2 separate regions of the Homo sapiens genome follow, and region 2 is linked to region 1. Evidence: promoter capture Hi-C in 16 types of primary human blood cells and fetal thymus (Javierre and others, 2016). All regions are on one chromosome and are shown on one strand. Each heading gives the region's core, a stretch centred on a gene start or on the middle of the fragment in contact. The rest is flanking DNA. Distances are from core to core; before and after follow the strand shown.

The links. Contacts are between HindIII fragments. The CHiCAGO score rates a contact against its expected background, and 5 or more counts as called.
Region 2: a fragment that was not itself captured here is called in contact with the fragment with the promoter of DOCK8-AS2 in region 1 in 1 of 17 cell types (M0 macrophages); the score reaches 6.9 in M0 macrophages.

Annotation. Positions count from the first base shown.
Region 1 is chr9:467,355-472,442 of GRCh38, forward strand. It overlaps DOCK8-AS2 (DOCK8 antisense RNA 2), which reads right to left and starts at 2,775. Exons shown (of 2, transcript XR_002956871.2): 1 at 1,960-2,775. It also overlaps a transcript of KANK1 not described here. RefSeq lists enhancers at 1,603-1,652, 1,893-1,992, 2,525-3,050, 2,553-2,702 and a silencer at 2,813-2,862. The HindIII fragment of the contact is 2,947 bases long and covers 471-3,417 here.
Region 2 is chr9:1,039,991-1,044,682 of GRCh38, forward strand. No RefSeq gene overlaps it. Among named protein-coding and RNA genes, the nearest start is that of LINC-ADAIN, 5.8 kb to the right of the region's middle. The HindIII fragment of the contact is 2,017 bases long and covers 2,119-4,135 here.

The DNA.
Region 1 (5,088 bases), core at 1,525-4,024:
TGGGTTTGTCATGCCACACATTGTTTTAAATTCCATAATTCTATTCTATAAAGAGTGGTTTCTATGACAATAGATCGTTTTAAAAACAAACAAACAAACAAAATTTAGAGTTGTCATTGGTAATTGTGGTTGCAAGTATGCTTTCAAAGACCAGAAGCTTTTGTTTTGCTTTGAATGTAATTTTTTTCTTTTTTCTTTTTGATACGGAGTCTCACTCTGTTGCCCAGGCTGGAGTGCAGTGGCACCATCTCAGCTCACTGCAACCTCCACCTCCGTGGTTCAAGCAATTCTCCTGCCTCAGCCTCCTGAGTAGCTGGGATTACAGGCGTCCACCACCACGCCTGACTAATTTTTGTATTTTTAGTAGAGATGGGGTTTTACCATGTTGGCCAGGCTGGTCTCAAATTCCTGACCTCAGGTGATCCACCTGCCTCTGCCTCCCAAAGTGCTGGGATTACAGGCGTGAGCCAAGCTTCAATATTCTTAAACCCAACCTCACACAGCCTGATTTAAAAACTAAATTTCTGCTAGGCACGGTGGCTCATGCCTGTAATCCCAGCACTTTGGGAGGCGGAGGCGGGCGGATCACGAGCTCAGGAGATCAAGACCATCCTGGCTAACACGGTGAAACCCCGTCTCTACTAAAAATACAAAAATAAAAAAATTAGCCGGGCGTGGTGGCGGGCGCCTGTAGTCCCAGCTACTCGGGAGGCTGAGGCAGGAGAATGGCGCGAACCCGGGAGACGGAGGTTGCAGTGAACGCAGATCGCGCCACTACACTCCAGCCTGGGCAAAGAGCAAGACTCCGTCTCAAAAAAATAAATAAATAAATAAATAAATAAATAAAAAACTAAATTTCTGGCCAGGCACAGTGGCTCGTGCCTGTAATCCCAACCCTTTGGGAGGCCAAGGCTGGCAGTTCGCTTGAGCCCAGGAGGTCGAGACTAGTCTGACAAACATGTCAAAACCCCGTTTCTACAAAAAATACAAAAATTACCTAGGTATGGTGGTGCCTGCCTGTAGTCTCAGCTACTTGGGGGGCTGAGGCATGAATCCAGGAGTTCAAGGCTACAGTGAGCTATGATTGTGTCACTGCACTCCAGCCTGGGCAACAGAGTGAGACCCTGTCTCAAAAACCAAAACAAACAAAAAAGAAAGCAAAAACTAAATTTCTGATAATCACTAAGTTTTTAATTATGAAATTACTAGAGGAAATGCAGCATCACCTTGGTTGAAAACCATTTGGAGAGCCGTGCACATTCCTGATCCCTAAGTCCTTGATGTTGCACCCATCTTGAGGAGCAGTGCTCTCTCTGGACCGATGTTACTGAATCCAACCCAGTTCCTACTTGATGTTTGTGGCATTAGCTTGGCAGCTAGTTTTTACGTTTACTATTTTTACTACATATTAGGAGATGGCAAATTACTGATAGCCAGGATAAGGGAATGATTTTCAAGGCATTATAGCTCTAAAAAACAATTGAGAAATCAGCTCCCTCATCACTTCCTTAATGCAATGAGAGAACACGACACGGATGAACAAACTGTTCTGTTATCCAACAAGATTATCAAGAGTTATTAGTGAGATAATAAAAAAGTATATGTGACTGCCAAAAGTCTCCAGACTAAGGACCAGAAGACCTGGTTTCTTGTTCTTTCACTTTCTAGTCCTGCAATTCTGGCGAAGATACTATACTGCTCTGAGCTTCAGGGTTTTTTTCACTGTGAAAGAGGGTGCAAGTTCCTCCACATTCTTCCAATCTACTGAGGAAACCCAATGAGATAATGCATGGGAACATGTTTTGGAAACTCAAAAGTGCTGCCCAAAATGTAAGGTAACACTGTTTACAATTGACACTTCCAGAAAGTTTAGCCAGCACCCCCACACATGGCATCCGCTTCTGACAACGTTAATCAAAATCAGGCCAAAGGTGCAGGCAGGACAGAGGCCTGACTTACCAGAAAATAAACGTCTGGTCTATTCCACTTGTAGTGCCAGTTTACATTGTCTGGCGAGAGCCAACTACCAGGGCCTCCGGGTAGAAGAAAGAAAGGGTATCAGTGGAACTGAGAGTGTATACAGTGGCGCCTGAAAGCGGGTAGAAGAAAGAAAGGGTATCAGTGGAACTGAGAGTGTATACAGTGGCGCCTGAAAGCGGGTAGAAGAAAGAAAGGGTATCAGTGGAACTGAGAGTGTATACAGTGGCGCCTGAAAGCGGGTAGAAGAAAGAAAGGGTATCAGTGGAACTGAGAGTGTATACAGTGGCGCCTGAAAACCCAACCTCGCCAGGCTTCCCTGTCTCCTGTGTGCAGCATGTGTGCAGTGCATTCCCCTGGAAGGTAAATTCGCGGAGTCCCGCAGCCCACCTGTGTCCACCTAGCCTGTAAGTGCCCCCTGAGGGTATCAAAGCACGCGGACTTCCGCCTGAAGCAAAGCCACCGGGCGGCAAGTTTCCCCGTTAACAACAACGAAGACAGAGAGGACTTGGCAGCTGTGACGGATCTGCAATAATTAAACTGACGTTGCTGTTTAGAAGCCTGGGGGTCGCCTGCAGCCTCCCAGGCTCCACTCCATCGGCTCCAGCGCTGCAGGCGGGCCGTGCATGTCTCTAGATGCATATTAAGCAAAAAGTTTCTAAAGAGGATCGCGTGGAACCCAGCAATTGATTAAGAATCTCAATGGCCCTAATCCCCTGAGAATTGAACTAAGGGCTCCCCAGCAAACACAGCGATTTACATGGGGCCTAGAGAGAGCGAGCACTGCCGGGGGCGGCGGCGAAGGGCAGCAGTGGTGGGACGGGCGGGGTAGGGGGAGTTACTGAGCATGCGCCCGGGTAGGGGCGTGGGGGAGTTACTGAGCATGCGCCCAGGTAGGGGCGTGGGGGAGTTACTGAGCATGCGCCCGGGTAGGGGCGTGGGGGAGTTACTGAGCATGCGCCCGAGGGTGTTTCGGGGCGTCCGAAGCGGGCGTGCTCCAGCCTGCTCAGCAGCGAGTGGTTGGAAATTAGCAAAGTGAGAGGGTGCGTGGCCTGAGGGACTCGGGGAGGCTGAGGGCTTTTTTTCTCAACACTGTGAAGCTCAGGGAAAGGAGTAGAACTGGGAACCAAGTAAAGTAAAATCGTGGCAAGTGGGCATAGACCTGAAATCTCCTTCGTGAGGGAACCCAGAACGTGCAGCTCAATGTATGTTTGGAACGAACAGGTGAAAGGAAGCAGGAGGAGGAGGGAGTTCTAGCGAAGACTTCGGAGGGAAGCAACCCATCCCCTGCCACAAGAAAGCACCGCCACTCCAGTGGGAACGGACACGCGTGCACACAGCCACGAGTGAGGTTTGAAAGAGGCCCCACCCTCCATTACACCTGTGCTCCACCGTGGCCCCCAGCCAAGTTTAATCTCCCATTCAGCACTTACTTCTGGAAGCTTCTTTCCCTTTCCTTCCCACCACTCATTGGCCTTTCACCCCCTAGTTTTTTGTCTGTGTGTGGGACTGTCTTCCCCCACTCCCCTTGACTGAAGTTCCTTGAGAGCAGCAGCCCTCTTTTTATCAGGGAAGAGATTTGAAGCTCAGGACATTCTTATCCAAGTAGGTGCTAGCCACCTGGGTAGTCAAGACAGGGCCCTGCACAGTTAATGTGAATCTTGTCATAATGCCAGGGTTATTGTTTTGCAAGGAGCCGGTCATAGAACACTAGATTGCATTGTCACTGGGAAATAAGCTCATTCTATTAGCTTGTTTCTCAGCTAGCTTATGTAGAAATTTGCCACAGTTGTTACTGCTGGGCACCTGCCCTGGATCTGATCATCAATTATATCATCTCTTCCATCTGATGGACTGCACCTCACCCCTTGCTTTTTCAGAGCTGGCGAAGCTGGGCCAAGGAAAGCGATAGTGCCAGCTGAGTGGAATGTGCAGGAAGGGACCGAGGAGGGGCACTATGTACTGGAGAAAAGAGATGGGGTCTCCAGGACAGGGGTAAGGACACTAGACTGAGGGCACAAAGGAAGGAAACCACAAGGAAGTAGAGTAGGGAAGTGGGGAGCATGCTGAGGAGAGAGGTCAAGAGATGGTGACCGCTCTCTGCATGCCCCAAGGAGATGGTGATGACACTCCCAAGTCCATGTGGGACTCCCTCCTTATGCGGGCCTCAGTCTGTCATCTTCCTTGGAGCAGGACCAAAGTAAATAAGATAAAGTCACAATTTCTCATCCTTCTTCACTCAACTTTTCTTTGAGGTGAGTTGGCATTTTTGTAAAAGAATGCATTCTCTGCCAGATGCGGTGGCTCACCCCTGCAATCCCAGGGTTCTGGGAGGCCAAAGTGGGAGGCTTGATTGAGGCCAGGGGTTCGAAACCTAGGCAACATAGCAAGACCTCCATCTCTGTAAAAGAAATTAGCCAGGCATGGTGGTGCATACTTGTAGTCCTAGCTACTTCGGAGGCTGAGGCGAGAGAATCGTTTGCACTTAGGCATTGGAGATTACAGTGAGTTAAGCGTTCTCCTGTACTGCCATGGTAGGTGGGTGTTGCTAGCCACATGAGGATATGTGAGCCGGTCACCAGGGACTGCGGCTGACTCCCCGAGCACAAGGACAGTAAGAATAAACCTCCGATTATTCCCCTGCCCCCAACCCCAACTTCAATTAAAGAGATATACCCTTATGTGACTGACAAAAAAGAGCCCTGCTCTCCCAGAGTCACATCCCCATACGCCAAAACACTCTTACATATAATTATTGGTGCTTCATAAATGGCTGATAAAAAAACTTTTCTATCAGGGAATACACCCTACCTTATTCACAGCCTCTTATAGAGAGCTGGCCTGCCCACAGTCTCTGTAAGGGGCAGTTGTCTCTTCTGAGTGACCAGTTTCCCTGACCTCCCCTCAAGCCATGACTGACCAAGGAAGTCAATGTCACCACTGAGAAGCAAGGCGTAGCCTCAGACTCTGAGTTTCTAACTCTTTCCACTTTCCTAAGATGGGGTTATGCCTCATTTCTGAGAGATTTCCAACCCTCTGCCATATATTCCTCTTTTTGTGAGGTCACTTGGGGAGGTGTCTGCTTCTTAGCACCAGAAGAGCTCTCTCAGG
Region 2 (4,692 bases), core at 1,877-4,376, 570 kb after region 1:
AGAAAACAAAACAACAATCAAAACTCTGTTCTTTGAGATCCTGGGAGGTTGCCTGTTAACATGAATGTGATGGAGTTGAAGAGGTCTTAGGCTGGGCTCAAGAGGTGTTTTTACTCCTGGGCAAAGTGTAAGGCTCTAAGTGGAGAGGAATACAACAGGTGTGTAGTTCTAAAGCCAGGGCTGAGATAAAGTCTCTGCTAAAAGAACGAATTCTAGATCCTTAACAGCGTTAACAATCCTAAACCCTTTGAGGGAGTAATTATTGTGAGTTATGGAGGAAATTTCCCAAATTGGTTAGAAAAACTGCATAGAGTTCAGATTCTAGACTCTAGAATTTAGGGTTATGACTCACCCCTGCTACTTATATCTTTGTCCCTAGTCTACTGGCATCAAGCTGGGCTCTCAATGAGAATCTTGCCCAGATGATTTATCACGAGTTTGTGAGTTCTAGAAAGTATCAGATCTGAGGTCCCAAAAATTCCATTCAATTGGTATAATTAAATCTTACCAACTCAATAAATGGGGCTGCAGGTTTTTTGCTTTTGTTTTTGTTTTTTTTGAGACAGGAGTCTTGCTCTGTCACTCAGGTTGGAGTGCAGCAGTGGTATGATCATGGCTCACTGCAGACTCAACCTCTTGGGCTCAAGTGATCCTCCCACCTCAGCCTCCCGAGTAGATGGGGTTACAGGTGTGCACCACCATGCCTAGCTAACTTTTGATTTTTTGTAGCAATGAGGTTTTGCCATGTTGCCCAGGCTGGTCTCGAACTGCTGGGCTTAAACCGTCTGCCCACCTCAGCCTCCCAAAGTGCTGGGATTACAGGCATTAGCCCCCGCTTCTGGCCAGCTGCAGGTTTTAATAGACAGAAATGTAGTGGACGTTCTGAAGAATTTTTCTGAGCAGGGATGGGCAGAAAGATGGGTCCATTATAACTGTCGAATCTGGTTAACAGATATATAGATATTACATACCCATATGGATATATAGGTATGGAGGTTACTCTACTGGGTTATAGTAATGGATATTATATTACTGGTCTACTTTTGTATATTGTTAAAATTTCCGTAATTAAAAGTATAAGTAATATAAAAGAAAACAACCCAGCTTATAGTTCCAGCTGGAAACCAGCCTTAGCTGAGTGAGGTAAGAGTTGAAGCTGGACTCATCCTTTCTTGCACAATAACAGGGTTTCCTCTGAAGAGAAATGAAAAGCATTGAATCAACGTGCTTATTTAGAAAGCGTTTATTACCTTGCTGCATCCCTCTTCCTCTTCAAAGTGAGAATGACATTTCCTTTCCAGTGCTTCCACAGGGAAATAGAAATCTGTGTAAAAATTCCAGAGCTTTGTTCCTCACTGGCCACAAGGGAGGTTAGGCACTGGATTTCTTATATGGCTGATGAAGGGAACATAATGGCAGCTTCATTTTAGAAAAGGGTATTGCTTGAACAATAATTAATAAACCAGCACCCATATTTCCCTTTGTGGCCTTTCCCAGACTTGTCTTATTTGATCTTACCAACTTGTTACTCAGGGAGTGAGGTTCCTGATTAGAAAGCAAACTAAGTAAGAAAAGAAGTCTCATTCATACCTTATGCTTTAAATGCTTTCTTATTTTCAAAGAATTCCAATTGCTTTTTTTTTCATTTGGAAATCAGGAAGCCATTGACATAGGCAAGAAAAAATATTTATTATGTTCATTTTACAAATGAGGAGACTGAGGTTTAGAGAGGTTAAAGGAATTTTCCAAAACTTCACAAGTGCTCCAGGAATGATTTGGTGTCTTTTATGTTTTCAGAGCCCAGGCTTCCTGTGTTCTATGCAGTGTATAGATTTGTCTTTGGGTTATTTCCTATACCAAACTTTAGTCTTTCTCACTGGGTACAAAGGGAAATTCTAAAATTCTGTTCCCCATGGAAAAATGTCCTTTGCTCCTCGGGGCAGATTCTGCAGGGAGAGACTTGCAAATATGAAGGAGGAGTGGAAGGTGTGATCGGAGAAAATACCAAGGACTGAAGTGTGAAGGGGTATGGGATGGATTGGAGGCAGTTCTGAGATGAGAGCCTGCTGAATTCGTGTTCCGGGAGATCAAGTTGGCTTCTTCTGGAAAAAACCTGTAAGCTTGGGAAAGCTGGGATTGGCTTCCATCACAAGCAGCTGGGATCTAAGTTCATTTGCATCAGGGCCACTCCAGCTCAGTTCTGCTGGGAACCGTACCGGGATGGGTGTGGGACGGCCTCGAATTCAGATCCGGGTGCTGTTTTTTCTAGGCAGTCTCTCGGAGCCTGCTTCCTGGACTACAAAATGAAGAGTTGTGAAGAGTCAATAATGTCAAGTTGGAAGGGTCTGACACGGAATCTGACCAAGGCTGGACCCTCAATAATTGTGATTTCTTTTCCCCCTTTTCCTTCTTGGTAAAATCATCCCACGAATCTACGCAAGTAGGGCCCTTCGTCATTCTTCGGAGTAGCCGCTTGAGGGCTGGAAGGAGCAGTGATAGAAACCCCAGAGACGCAGAGACCCTCCGAACTTCGAACTCGATCACTGTCCTCCCCCGACCGCCGAACCCGCTGGAGAAGCGGGCGCGACAGGGCGATGAGTTAACGCGGAGGGAGCGCGGAGGCCGCGGAAGCCGGGGGCGCTGGGTCTCAGGCCCGGATGCTGAGCGCGGACCGGCGTGTCCTCCCCACAGCGCCCCCGCGCGGCCTCCTCCCGCTGCGCCCCGCACGGCGACCCGCCGCGGGTAGCCCTGGCGTTTGGCCACGCCGTCGGCTGAGGACCGCTAGAGCTGGGGGGAGATCAAAGCATTCCTATGGGGCCCAAAGAGCCTGGGATTGCAGTGTTGTTAGCCTGGCCTCGCCGCGTCAATAAATTTTCGGCGAAAGTTGGGAGCAGGAGTGGAGGCTTGGGGCGGGGGTTGGTGGGGCGCGGGGGTTGGCCGGAGGGAGGGTCCGGGGGTTTCTTGCACCTGCGCTCCTGCCGCGTTAAGTCAGTGGGAAGCAAGTGACATTTCCCTTTCACCCGCCCCCTTGGAACTTGCTCATCTCCCTCCTTTAGAACACCGCCTGCTCTCCGGGGTCAGCATTATCAAAGAGAAGATTTCCTCCAGGCCCTTAAAATTTACGTGGCGCCTTGTTACAAGGAGCGCGCTGGAAGCTGGCTTTGGTATCTCCTTGTCCCCTCTTTCTCCTGCCCCGCCCCCACATCCCCGTGGAGAAACCCCCGAGCAGGCCTTTTGCATTTTCTCACCCCACTTAGAACTACAAAAAATATATGGGAAGGTGATTTGGTTTCACTTCAACCTCTTCATTTTGCAGAAGCCTAAAGTGGTGATGGTGAGAAAAGTGGCCCAAGGTCAAGGGTTACTTCAGTTGGCAAAACCAGGAGTAGAACAGGAGAATCCCTAGAGTCTTACTATATATTTTTTGCTACTTATTTCATGGACAAAAATAATCATTCTCTTAGGCAGGTCAAGTACTCTTTAAAGGTGTCTGTGCTTTTGCCAGTTGGCTGCAAAACTTAGCATCACACTTGTCACCTGGACATCATGGGGAGTCGCTGGCTATCCAACGACAGAGCCGAGTACACTCTGATCCCTCCTCTGAGACACTCCTTTCTCACTCCCACTCCATCCTGAAAAACACTATGGAGCATGTGTTCTGGGCAAGTCTTCTCCCAGGCGTGGGTAAAATTTGAGCACAGGGATTCTTCTGGCATAATTGGGGGGAATCCCTCCTCCAGCAAGAACACTTTTCAGAGGGATCTCCTGGGGCTAACAGGAAAGGCAATATTTCAGCCCTCCACAGAGCTGAAACTCAGACCTCAGAGTCAGCTTCGCACAGGACAGGGCTAAGGAAGCCTGGTAATTTTTGGCTTAAAGTCCAGTCAGAATGAACCTGACCTAGAAGCCACAGGATCATGGAACCTTTGTGACTTGTGGCAACCTTCTTTGTCACTTGGATGAATCCTATTGGATCTGGGCTCTAGGAAACTGAATCTTTTGTGAAACTACTCCATGTCCCATCGTTTCCCTAGTTGATAGATTCCACCCACCCCCTACATTTTTAACTAGGTAAGATTAATAGCAGTAGCATAGAGGAGCAAAAATATCACCAAAATGTCAAAACCAATGCCAAAGCTTGTTTCTAATTCCCCACACGCCACCTTCTTTTCCTTCTCCTCTCCTCCTCCTGTCCAGCTTGGACTTTCTTCATACCCTTGATCTTGCTACCTGAGCAAGCAGTCCATCAGATGGGAGTTAAGATTTGTTACAGTCTTTAACGTTTGAGGCAGAACCTAGAAATCAATGTACTTCCCTCCTTCACTTTACAGTCAAGGAAGCCCAGGCCCAGGAAGGTGGAAAGATTTGCTGAGGGGTTCATGCACATGGAAGAAGTTAACTTTTCATCACAGCACCTGCCTTGCCAACACTTGGCAATCCCCCCCCCGCCCCGCCCCGCCTTGATTCCTCTCTACCTGGTTGTTAGACTGCTGGGAAAATATGGAGAGTGATTTCAGTGTGGATAAAGCCTGCCCCCTTGAAATGTAAAACCCCAAAATAGAATGGGAATAGGGAGTGGAAAGTTCTCAGAGTTAAGGGTTTACTGTTCCAGTTAGTCGTGAGGACCCCTAGGGGCTGCAAGAAGGCTCTCGGGGGTGAAGAGCTGTGTGTCTCCTGATGTGGCAACCAGCC